Linked DNA regions of Homo sapiens: region 1 is linked to region 2. The links are contacts of gene promoters, found by promoter capture Hi-C in blood cells and fetal thymus (Javierre and others, 2016). All regions are on one chromosome and are shown on one strand. Each heading gives the region's core, a stretch centred on a gene start or on the middle of the fragment in contact. The rest is flanking DNA. Distances are from core to core; before and after follow the strand shown.

Region 1 (6,079 bases), core at 3,111-5,610, 1.1 Mb before region 2:
TTTCTTGCTCTCTTGTTGCTTGAGTATGATTTTAATCTCTATGATGATTAATTTTATGTGTCAACTTGACTGGGCTAAGGGATGCCCAGATAGCTGGTAAAACATTATTTCTGGGTGCATATGTGAGGGTGTTTCTGGAAAAGACTATCATTTGAATCAGTAGACTGAGTAAAGAAATCACCCTCGTGAATGTGGGTGAGTATCCTCTAATCTACTGAGGGCTGGAACAGACCAAAAATCCAGAGGAAGGGCAAATTATCTCTCTTCTTGAGCTGGGACATCCATCTTCTCCTGCCCTCAGACATCAGAGTTTCTGATTCTTGGACCTTTAGAAACTTACACTAGCATCTCTCCTGCCTGCCCCAGTTTTCAGGCCTTCAGCTTCAAACCTGAAGTTACACCATCAGCTGCCCTGGTTTTCAGGTCTTTGGACTCAGACTGAATTACACCATGGGCTTTCCTGGCTCTCCAGCTTGCAGATGGCAGATGTGGGATTTCTTAGCCTCCATAATTATGTGAGCTAATTCCCTTAATAAATGTCCTCGTCTATCTATCTATCTATCTATCATCTATCTATCTATCCATCCTATTGGTTCTGTTTCCCTGAAGAACCCAGACTAATATAACCTCAATTCAACCATAAGCTCCTTGAAGGCAGGAACCATGTCTTTGTAAGCAGAACAGGAATGGTGCTGCATAGGAGATTGAGAGACCAGAATCCTAGGACTAATTTGTATTATCAGACTGTGCTAGACTGAAAGTTACTGATAACTACAGTGGTGTGGCCAGATAGGTTTTTTAATTTTCTTATAAAATAAGAAGGCTGGAAGTAGGCAGTTCAGAGCTGGTACAGCAGCTCCACGGTGTATTTAACATGTCAGACTCCTATTCATTCATTCAGCCATCTTTAGTAGGTGGCTTTGGAGTTCACGCTTGGAGTTCACTTCTAAGATTCATAATGGCTCCTTGGCCTCTGGGCTTATACCCACATTCTAAGCCAAAAGGAAAAAGGAGGAGAGGGACAGAAAGCTTGCAAAGCAAAATCTTCCTACTAATCCCAGGTGGACTCCTGTTTGCTTCTTGTGGCCATCTCTAGCTGCACAGGAGTCTACCGCTCTAAACTGAATTGGGGCTTCATTGTACTCTAGCTTCTCTGCATCCCTGCCTTCCTCCTAACAGCATTCTTTGGGTTTCCGTTTGGGAAATTGCCCCTCTCCACTATGAGAGTCTTAGTAGGAGAGTAAATTCAGATGCTTTCCTTTCAACTTCTGCAGTTGAAGGAGTTTGCCAACACCTTTCCCAGGACAAATAGGAGAGTGTATACTAATGTTGGCCAATCTGAGGGCCTCTCCCAAGACTTTGGCTAGTGTGCAAGTGAAACAAGGGCATAGAAAGTGTCTAGAGTTTAATCATCTATCTCTGCAGCAGCTTCCTGACCAGACCATTTCTACTAAGAGATTATTCCCAGGGTTTTCACTTTCTAGCTTTTCAGAGCTACTTTCTCCCTATCCGTTTCTAAGCCTGGATCTCCAAACTTTCTGTAAGTTCTGAAGGCCCAATCCTGCCAATAAACTCCCATCTACTGGGTCACAGAGACTGTTTCAATTGCTTCTAACAAAAAAGTCCTGACTAATACTCCAAACCCACCACTGGTCAGGCGTGATCTCGAGAAAATCCTCTAACCTCTCTGGGTACTCTCTACTGATCACAAAAGGATGGGTTATTCCTAAAGGCTTTTCCATTATGACTTTGACCACCTCCAGAAGGCCCTCTTTGTACCAAGTAGGCCCAAATGGACATCAAAGCCTGGATTAGGGTTTTAGCAATAGGGGTAAAATATAAAAGCTCCATTAGGAACGGCAGCTGACAGCACTGGGATGCTGCTACTGGAGCACTCCTTGGGCAATTAACCCAGGTAAGCACCAACCAAAACCCACTCCACTGCTTTTGGCACCAGAGTGCAATGTTTTCATTAGCAAACAGGCACTATTTAGTGTCTTCTTGCCATAATTATAAAGGTCCACTTATAATTCTGTGCTTTCAACTGTTCTTGATTATAAGACTTCTTAATTGTGCCACCATAAAACATGTTTTCAGGGGGAATCTGTTTTCCACTTTAAATTCTCTCCTGCAGCAATGTATTTGCCTTACAAAACTTCAGAATAAAGGGTAGAGGCTTCTGTAAATTCATAGTCTGTACCTTCAAGGAAAAATTACTTTGTTAGAATAGCAAAGTGGCCCCAGTTTGGCCTTATTTTCTAGCAAAAACTCATTGCTTAGCTGCATTTAATAATCCATGGAACATTTCTATTAACTTCAGTGTGTGAATTGTGTGACTGCAGAATGGGTAAAAAAAAAGTGAGAATCAGGAATACAAAATATGCAGAAAATGAAAATAAGTGAGATGTTAAATATTTGATCAAGGCCTTTATTTTCAGGTAACCAGTTGCCATCTTGGGGTCTCAAATGCCAACAGAAGCCACAGAATACTATTCTGAATTATTAAAGTGACTAGGAGAACCTTGTTTCTTTTTACTACTTTTAAATGAGTATGTAGCCTCTCAAGCTAACCTTTGCTTAAACATTTAACATAGACATTGGGTGAAATATAAAAAAGCAAAAGTTCTCAGTCTAATACTCAACCTGTAATTATAAATCAGATTACATAATACAGCTCAGCCATTTCATTTTATTTTTCTGTGTTCTAACAATTTTTTTCAGTTTGAGAGGAACCTAACCAAGATTAGTTGAAAGTCTGCATTCTAGAATATTTTTATCTGTATGTGTACTGAATATATTTTTCATTTGCTCAATTCAATGCATTCATTCATTCAACAGATATTTATTGAATATCAGGTGCTAGGCACTGTTGTGGGTGTGAGGACATATCAGGGAACAAAATGTATAAAGATTCAGCCACTCTTGGGCCCTACACTTCTGCGAGGGAGACAGATAATGAGCAAAATATCCTCCAATGATAGGTAGTAAGTACTACAAAAGGGGTTGTATGGGAGTATTTTTGTTTGTTAAGTGGAGCTGTCTACTAGAAAGCTAATGAATTGGGAAAGTTATCCTAAGAGTGGGCGGTGTGTTATTTAGGTCAATGAGGACAGCAGCACCATGGTTCTAGGTGCAAATAGGCCCAGTGTGTCCAAGGAACAGCAACAGAGTCAAGGAAACCAGAGATGAGAATGGCTGACAGCTGGAGCACTTGTCAGGGCAGATCCTTGAGGGCCTTGCACACCAGGGGGAGGACTTGAGATTTTACCCTAATTGTGGTGGAAGCCACTGGAAACTTTTGAGCAGAGGAGTGTTATAAACTGATTCACGTTTTAAAAGGATAATTTTAGCTCAATAGTAAGTATAGCCATGAAGCCAAATTGACAAAGTGAAGGTTTTCTAGTGAGGACCTGCTTTGATGCTTGTATAAGAAAGATCTGGCATGAGCACTATCTGTTCACTGTTTGTAAGAAAACACCTGGCCGGGCACGGTGGCTCATGCCTGTAATCCCAGCACTTTAGGAGGCCAAGGCGGGTGGATCACCTGAGGTCAGGACCAGCCTGGCCAACATGGTGAAACCTTGTCTCTTCTAAAAATACAAACATTAGCTGGGCGTGGTGGCGAGCGCTTGTAATCCCAGCTACTTGGGAAGCTGAGGCAGGAAAATCACTTGAACCTGGGAGGCGGAGGTTGCACGCCACTGCCCTCCAGCCTGGGCTACAAAAGTGAAATTTCATCTCAAAGAAAAGAAAAGAAAATGCCCATCTGCTGAAGTAGTTGCAGTGACTGAAAAGTTTGCCCTCTTTGGTCATTTGAAAAGTCCACCAGTCTCCCTTTTACATTTTACTTTTACCCACTCAAAGCTTGCTTTTCCTCAGCGACAGGTCAGAAGTCAAGGTTAGAATAGGTTCATCCAAATACAGAGGCTGCCCCAGTCTACGGCCTCATCACAATCCATCCACAAGCAAGCTTTCCAGAATGGCCTCAGGTCCATCCCAGGACTGTGACTCTCAGCCATCTGCACATTGCTTACTGCCCAAAGAGTTCCTCCTGAAACTTCATCAGCACACTGTTAAGTGATAGAAGGAAACTGCAGAATAGTGTTATACTGTAGCCAGATCTCATTTTAGTAATGACATTTTTATGCCTAGAAATAATGTTTTAAATGTTCAAAAATATGAGCTAAGTGGTCAGTTCCAGCTTTTTTCCCTGTAGAGACCTGTCTCCTGCAGCCTTGGGTGGGATGATTCCAAGGCATGCTCTTCACACAGTTTTCTAGGGTTTTCCCCTAGGATTAAGCCCTAAACATCTATTATAGTAGCTGGCTTAATCTTTTATTGAGCTCCCCTTTTCTTCCCTGTATTGCTTCTTCATTACTCTGCTGGTGTTCCATGTACCTCTCAAATAACTACTTGCATTAATTCTTACCTCAGGATCTGGTTCTGAGGCACTCAAGCTGAGACATCCTCTATGTAAAATCTTCCTCCTTCCTGAGGTGGCATTAGGTGGCCACCTTCCTTGAGCCATAATGGCAGATAGGATCCAGGAGAAATGAAACTTACCAATAAAGGAGAGATCTGAAAATATTATTCCCATTATACCCATAATCCAGTAGTCTTTTTGTGAGCTTAAGCAAATACAAGACTTGCATTTAGGTATTCCTCCTTCTAAAAAATTAGGAGGTAGTTGCCTCTCCAAAATGGATTTCTCAGCCATTGCGTCTTCACCGCTTAGGTTAGGTAAAGCTTGGCTATTATATGAGGTTCTTACCTTCCAGCACAAGGGGACGCTACTTTTTTAAAAAAATATTTTTATTTCCATAGGTTATTAGGGAACTGGTGGTATTTGGTTACATGAGTAAGTTCCTTAGAGGAGATTTGTAAGATTTTGGTATACCCATCACCCGAGCAGTATACACTGAACCCAATTTGTAGTCTTTTATCTCTCACTCCCTTCCCATTCTTCCCCTCTGAGTCCCCAAAGTCCACTGTGTCATTCTTATGTCTTTGCATCCTCATAGCATAGCTCCCACTTATGAGAATATACCATGTTTGGTTTTCCATTCCCGAGTTACTTCACTTAGAATAACACTCTCCAATCTCATCCAGTTGCTGTGAATGCCATTAATTCATTCCTTTTTTCTTGCCTAGGAAACCAGGCTTCCTCCTAGACCAAGCTTTAGTCTTCACTACCTCAGGCAGAGAAAGCTTCCCTTGCATGAGGAAGTCATTGCCCAGCCTCTTCTCTGCTCTCTGTGTGCAGCTTCTCCCTCCCTGGCCTAGGGCCCTGACCCAGAATGACTCTTCAGCCCACGATTTTAATCGAAGGCCTCTAATCAACCTGTGGTACTACATGCTACACAAGATTCTCAGAAATCCCTAAGCTTTCTCATGAGCCTCCCACCCTGCTGGGAAATAAGCTGACTTATCAATTAAAGAATATCCAAAGATGTTAAGCCACTTAATCCTCCCCAAAACTCAGTGCGGTAGGGGTTGTTACCTCCCATTATACGAAAGGAAAGTGAGGCTTGGGAAGTAAAGAGACTTGTCCAAGATCACCTTCTGGAGCCACATTTTACACCACAGGTAAGAGAAAAGGGATCCGAGAGGGCACGGACACTGTGTCTTCAGACTGAGTGGGGAAGTACCATTTACCTGGGTACTTATTGGGTGCAAGTTGCATGCCCCCGGTGCTAATACACAAGGGACAAATTTATGGGCCTCCTAAAACTGTGGACAGTGCACCCGTCCAGCCAACTTCATGGGTGCACCGTGAGGCTCTGGTGATGTGGACAGGCTTATAAAACACTCTCCATACTAAGATGAGGTTGTGTTCCTGTGTCTAGGAAACGCTGGAAATTAAGTGTACAGCAATCAAAAAACCTTGACATCATCCTTGATGTCTCTCTTTTTCGCACACTCCAATTCACTCCATTAGGAAACTGTATTGGCAGAATCTAGTGAATCTTGTCCTTCAAGGCCTCTCTCTGCAAGGCTCCCATGAGCCCTGGGGGCTTATGGAGAGTTCTGGGTGGGCAGAGGAAGCCAGACTGCGTTAGGGAAGCAAATTTGGGACCTA
Region 2 (5,718 bases), core at 200-2,699:
CACTTCTGGAACCCAGGCTTAAGCTGTCTGTACATTTCCCAGGCAGTTACTGGTAAAGAGGAAGAGTGTGTGCCTGTGTGAACTTATTGGCTCAAAAAACCAGAAGGAAAGGTTTTAGATGAAAAAGAAAGTATGTGGTCCTGATTTCTCCAAGTAGACATCTGGAAAATCACGTTAGTATGAATTTGAAGTCTACCCTTTTTTTTTTTTACAACAAAGCAGAGACTAATAGCAACTGGGTCCTTGTTAACTTGCTTAGCCACTGAATTAATCAAAGTCTCCCTTGCCTCTGAGCTTTCTGTTATGCGAGATAAGCAACTTCTTTATTTTTTAGGAAGACAGTTTAACTCAGATTCTATATCACGTGCATCCAAAATAATAATAACTGACTCAAAGATGTTTGGCCTCTACAATTAGGGCAGCCATTCTCAGAAGAGTATGCAAGGGCACCCTATTATCTTGGAAAAGGGAAGCACTGAGACTATTTGCATTTTGAGAACTGAAAATGCAATCTGCTAACCGTCGTTAGAGTGAATATCCAGGTATGGAAAGCACAGTGGGTAGGCGTAGGTTGGGGTAGGGACATGTTTGCATGGGGCAAACACAGAGATCAAACCTAAGTGTAGTCCCAGCTGCCTGGAAGAAGGCTAAGAAGGGTCTGAAAGTATTGAGCTCCAAGAGCCCTTGGATCTCCTGATGAGAGACCCTTGGCTGATGCCCTAGATGGGACATCCCTGTTGGCTACTGTGGGACCTGCATCATTTGACTGCAACACAGTCTGTTGCAACATTTGACTGTAACACAGACCTACATCATTTGACTGATTTGAAAAGACAAGTTGTCAACAGCGACACCATGTGGCTATAAGATACAATGACAATGGTGGACAGCTACAGCCTCAGGTAGGGCCTGACGCTTCGTCGAGATGTGGAAAATGCTGAATGGGAAGATGAACTGTCGTCAACAAATATTTATTGGGGTCCTCCAAATGTCAGCTGCTACAGTGGTCATTCAGGTCTGGAACATCGAGAACATGCTGACCCGTACCCCAGCAAGGGCTCGTAGTCGCGGCGGGGTAGGGGGCGAGAGAGAGGGCAGTCTCTGGTGGCCAGGTAACCCAGGCTTCACTTTCACCCACGGCCACAAGTATTTCTGACGTCTTCCGGGCAAATAAGCCTCCATGTAAGTGACAGGGCACCCAAGGAGTGCGTTGGAAGCGCCAGCGTGCCCGAGACCAGCACATCGCACCGACGCCTTCGTTTGCGGTAAGCCCCGCCCCCCGTAGTGAGCCAACCGGAGGGAGCGGGGCGGACCCAGCTTCCCGGAGAGGCTGGAGAGAATCGTTTGGGGGCATTCGCAGGCCAAAGAGGGGCTGGCCCTCGACGCGCTCGGGCTCGATTGGCCGCCCTCCCCCGGCGGTGGTAACGGTCGCGGAGGCGGGGCCTGACGTAGCTGATCCCAGCCTAACCTGGCCCGGCTGGCTGCTGGTGGGAGGCCGGCGACTGAGTAAGGTGAGTGGCTCTCGGGGCTCTCAGAGGCGTCGGCGTGAGCCCCTTCCCGGAGTACCCCGGACTTGACCTCACCTGGGCCTAAAAGTGGTCAGACTGACCCTTGTCGGGGAGGAGCCATCTGGGACAGGGTCGCGCCAATTAAAAATCCCTGCGTAAGGGTTTGGGGATCGGACAAAACTGCCTCCAGTCCCAGCTCCCCAGGCTTTGTGTTCTTTGGCTTCTCCTTTAATGTCTCAGCGCCTCCGATTCTTTATTTGTATACTAAAGCTGGTAATTCTTGCCTTACAAGGTGGTTGTGAGGGTTAAATGAGGCAGTAAGAGTAAAGCTTAGAATCACGTCGGGCACAGACTCGATTTAAGCTGTAGGTAATTACTCCATCCCCCAAAATCGACCCGGGCTGAAGCGCTAGTTTTGTGTCAAACAACCGCGAAGGTTGTTTGGGGAGTGAGGACTCGGAGCAGAAGGGGGCGGTTAGGCGAATAGCACAGGTGAGTATCTCTTTCTCCAGTTTATTAACCTCATTCCGGATTCAGGAGACCTCTGACTTTATACAGGGCCTAATAGGAGTTTTTCAAGGTGAAAAATGCCAGAAGGCTAAGTCACCTGTAACAGAGAGACCAATCAGAGTTTCCTTTTTTACTGCCACTTTGTTTTTCAATCAATGATATTAAACAGGCAGGGCGCAGTGGCTTACGCCTGTAATCTCAGCACTTTGGGAGGCCGAGGTGGGCGGATCCCCTGAGGTCAGGAGTTCGAGACCACCCTGGCCAACATGATGAAACCACGTCTCTACTAAAAATACAAAAATTAGCTGGGCATGGTGGTGTGCGCCTGTAATCCCAGCTACTCGGGCGGGTGAGGCAGCAGAATCGCTTGAACTCGGGAGGCGGAGGTTGCTGTGAGCCGAGATCGCGCCACTGCACTCCAGCCTGGGTGACGGAGCGAGACTCTGTCTCAAAAATATATGTATAATATATTAAACTCTGTGCAGGCATTACCCATATTGGTTTCAAGCCTCTGCATGAGTTTTGTACTTTAAATATTGCCAAGTAGACTCTGGCCTCCCCTGCCCCGCCTTTTGGGGAAGAGGTGGCTGACTTGGAGTTTTCCCTACAGCTTTTGCTTCAAAGCAAGGTTCTGCCCCTTCATGTCACCTCTCCTGAGACAGAATGATTTGGTTGAGATGACATTCCATTTTAACTCTTTCCTATTTGGGGTAAGTTCAGCTCTTTCTTAGGAACATTAAACAGCAAGTTGCAATATTTTTAGAATAGAGCTTTTGCATTTAATAAGGAATAGAGACTTCGAAAGGGTTACATGTTCATTTATTGCAGTAATTTGAAGTATATACTTTTGAAGATGCTTACAGATTTTGGTGTGATTCAGTTGAGAAGGAACAGTTATTGGCCATGGTTTATTGTCAGCTCCCCTCCCCCACCCCAAATGGTGAAAAAAATAATTAAATTTTAAGATATGGAGCATGTTACAAGGGGCTTCAGACCTATAAAGGGCAATTTGGCTGAAAGACTCGGGAAACCTAGAAAGTGCCAGAAGATGCAATTATGTTTTTGCTTTTCTATGCTTGGCTTACTATGCCATGTACAAATCAACTCCTACCCTCCGACTCCTACCCCCCGACTCCTACCCCCAACAATCTTATTTTAAGTGTGTTATGACAGTAATTAAAGCTGTAGCTTCTGTTTTGGCCCTAGAAAGCATTTGGTCTCTTCCTGTGACTTTAAAGTTCCAGACCTTTGTCCTGTCACAGCCTGTAGTGGGGAAAAGGCTGCTGCAAACTATTGGCCCGTTTATTTCACAGAATGGTCCTCTGAAAAGGAGGGCTTGGTCACAGGTGCAAATGAGGAGTAGTTTTGTTCCTGTGTTTGCTTTTGTGATCAGTGGTAGTTTGTCTGAGGATGCTTCATTTTAGTATCCTTGCAAATGAGAATATCCTACCTGTGGAGCCAGAAGTCAGAATTGATGATAGATGATGATAGATTTGGATACCCAGCTAAATGTCTTAACAAGGTAGGGAGAGGAAAGATAAGAAGGAGAGAGAAGAGAAGGGAAGAGGCATATGATGGTGAGCTGGGAAGGCCATTAGCAGTTATTTCAGTTGTGCCTGCTTTATCTGTGATTACCAGTACCTTGGATGCCTGCTCTGGGAGTAACACAAGACCATTCTTACTAGGAGGTTGAACATTTCAAGATTTTGTTCTTTTTATCTTTTTGAAACCTAGATGAAGATCCAGTTTCAGACATGAGACTCGTTGGGTGATCATTTCATTGAGATCAACCTGAATGACCAGGTGTAAAGTGCAAGAGTAATATGCTATGACTGAGGTATGTCTAATGTAACGGATGACTCCAGATGTTGGGAGGCCATGGAAAAAAATCTAATATTTATTGAGTACTATACTAGGTTCATTACATATATTTCCTTTTGACTTCCTGATAATCCTATCAGGTAGATATTTTACAACTCAGCAAAGAAGCTGAAGCTCAGAGAGGTTAAATACCTACTTAAGATAACACAGAAAGCTGATCACCAACTCTAATCACAGTCTCCATCCTGCTGTGTGCCAGACAATGCTTTATGTTCTTTCTATATTAACTCTTCTAATCTTTAACTCGTGAGCTGAGTACTTTTATTATCCTTATTTTATGATGAGGAAATTGAAGCACACAGAGATTAGTACTGTACTCTCCTGGCTGTGTGGCAGAATCCATGATTTGAACCCAGGCAGTCTGGCTACAGAGCTCTGCAGGTTGAGTATCCCTTACCTGCAATGCTTGGAACTATGTTTTGGACTTTTAGATTAAAAAAAAAATTGGAATATTTGTATATACATGAGGTATCTTGTTTAGAGTTGGGTAACTCTAAACACAAAATTCATTTATTGTTTCATATACAGCTTATACACACAGCCTGAAGCTAATTTTATACATTTTTAATAGTTTTATGCATGAAATGAAGTTGTGACTGTGACCTGTCACATAAGGTCAGGTGTGGAATTTTCTACTTGTGGTGTCAAGTTGGTGCTCAAAAAGTTTTGGATTTTGGAGCATTTTGGATTTCAAATATTCATATTAGGAACGTTCAACCCGTACCAGCTTTATTTTGGTTAGGTTAGCATTTCCTTTACTTTTCTATTTTTTGTTATTTAACAAAATCTTTTTAGCGTAAAATGAAATTTTTGTTATAAATCACATACCAAATGTATAGCTTAATAAATTATTACAGGACCATACCATTCAGGTATGCCAGATCCCCTCCATTACCCTATCCCAGTCAAAACTCCTGTGTTCCCATTTAGTCACCATTCTTCTGGGTTTTATAGTTTTGTAGTAATCACTTCCCTGTTTTTTTTTTATTATTTATTTATGAGATAGAGTCTCATTCTGTTGTCCAGGCTGGAGTGCAGTGGCACGATCTCAGCTGTCTGCAACCTCTGTCTCCTGGGTTCAAGTGATTCTCCTGCCTCAGCCTCCTAAGTAGCTGGGATTATAGGCACACACCACCAGGATCGGCTATTTTTTTTTTTTTTTTAGTATTTTTAGTAGAAACGGGGTATCACCATGTTGGCCAAGCTGCACTGTGAGCCTGGCCTCCTAGTTTTTGATAGCTTCCTTGTTATATAATATATTGAACAATTCCTATCGCAGATATGAAATCAGCCATTTCTTTAAAATGCCCGGGTTTCATTTAGAGGGAAATAATATTTCAGTTACAGTCTGAATGCTAAAGATCCTGAGTTAGTCACTGTTTCAGGCATTTCAGTAGACAGAGCTAGGATACCTGTATCTGTCTATAGACACACATGTTAAAAGATACCTAATGTATTCTACTTCCAGTCTTCAGATTGAGATTACAGAGCTTTTACTTAACAACTTCTCTATCACAACTGTAACTCCTTTTTTCCATACTGAGAATCATGATTCTCAAGAATATAGGAGAAAATAGAATATTCCATATTTACTCATTATTCTGTATTATACATATGACAGTATCAGAACTATATTTCTGAAATCACCATCAATATGATTACTGAAAACATTAAACCTTTTTTTTTTGGCTTATGTTCTTCTCATTTTTTCTTCTCTCTCTGTTTTAACAGTTATGCTCTATCTGCATTGTCAGAGTATATAGCCATTTCATGTTCTGCTTTTTCCCTCTTAGCCTATTAGTTCTATTAATATATTTAA

Evidence for each region. Contacts are between HindIII fragments. The CHiCAGO score rates a contact against its expected background, and 5 or more counts as called.
Region 1: a contact is called between a fragment that was not itself captured here and the fragment with the promoter of CEP70 in region 2, in 1 of 17 cell types (naive CD4 T cells). The highest score is 6.2, in naive CD4 T cells.

What each region holds. Positions count from the first base shown.
Region 1 is chr3:139,678,728-139,684,806 of GRCh38, reverse strand. No RefSeq gene overlaps it. Among named protein-coding and RNA genes, the nearest start is that of NMNAT3, 3.8 kb to the right of the region's middle. The HindIII fragment of the contact is 776 bases long and covers 3,973-4,748 here.
Region 2 is chr3:138,589,991-138,595,708 of GRCh38, reverse strand. CEP70 (centrosomal protein 70) reads left to right here and starts at 1,449. Exons shown (of 18, transcript NM_024491.4): 1 at 1,449-1,511; 2 at 3,753-3,855. RefSeq lists an enhancer at 1,185-1,244. The HindIII fragment of the contact is 6,508 bases long and covers 1-1,839 here.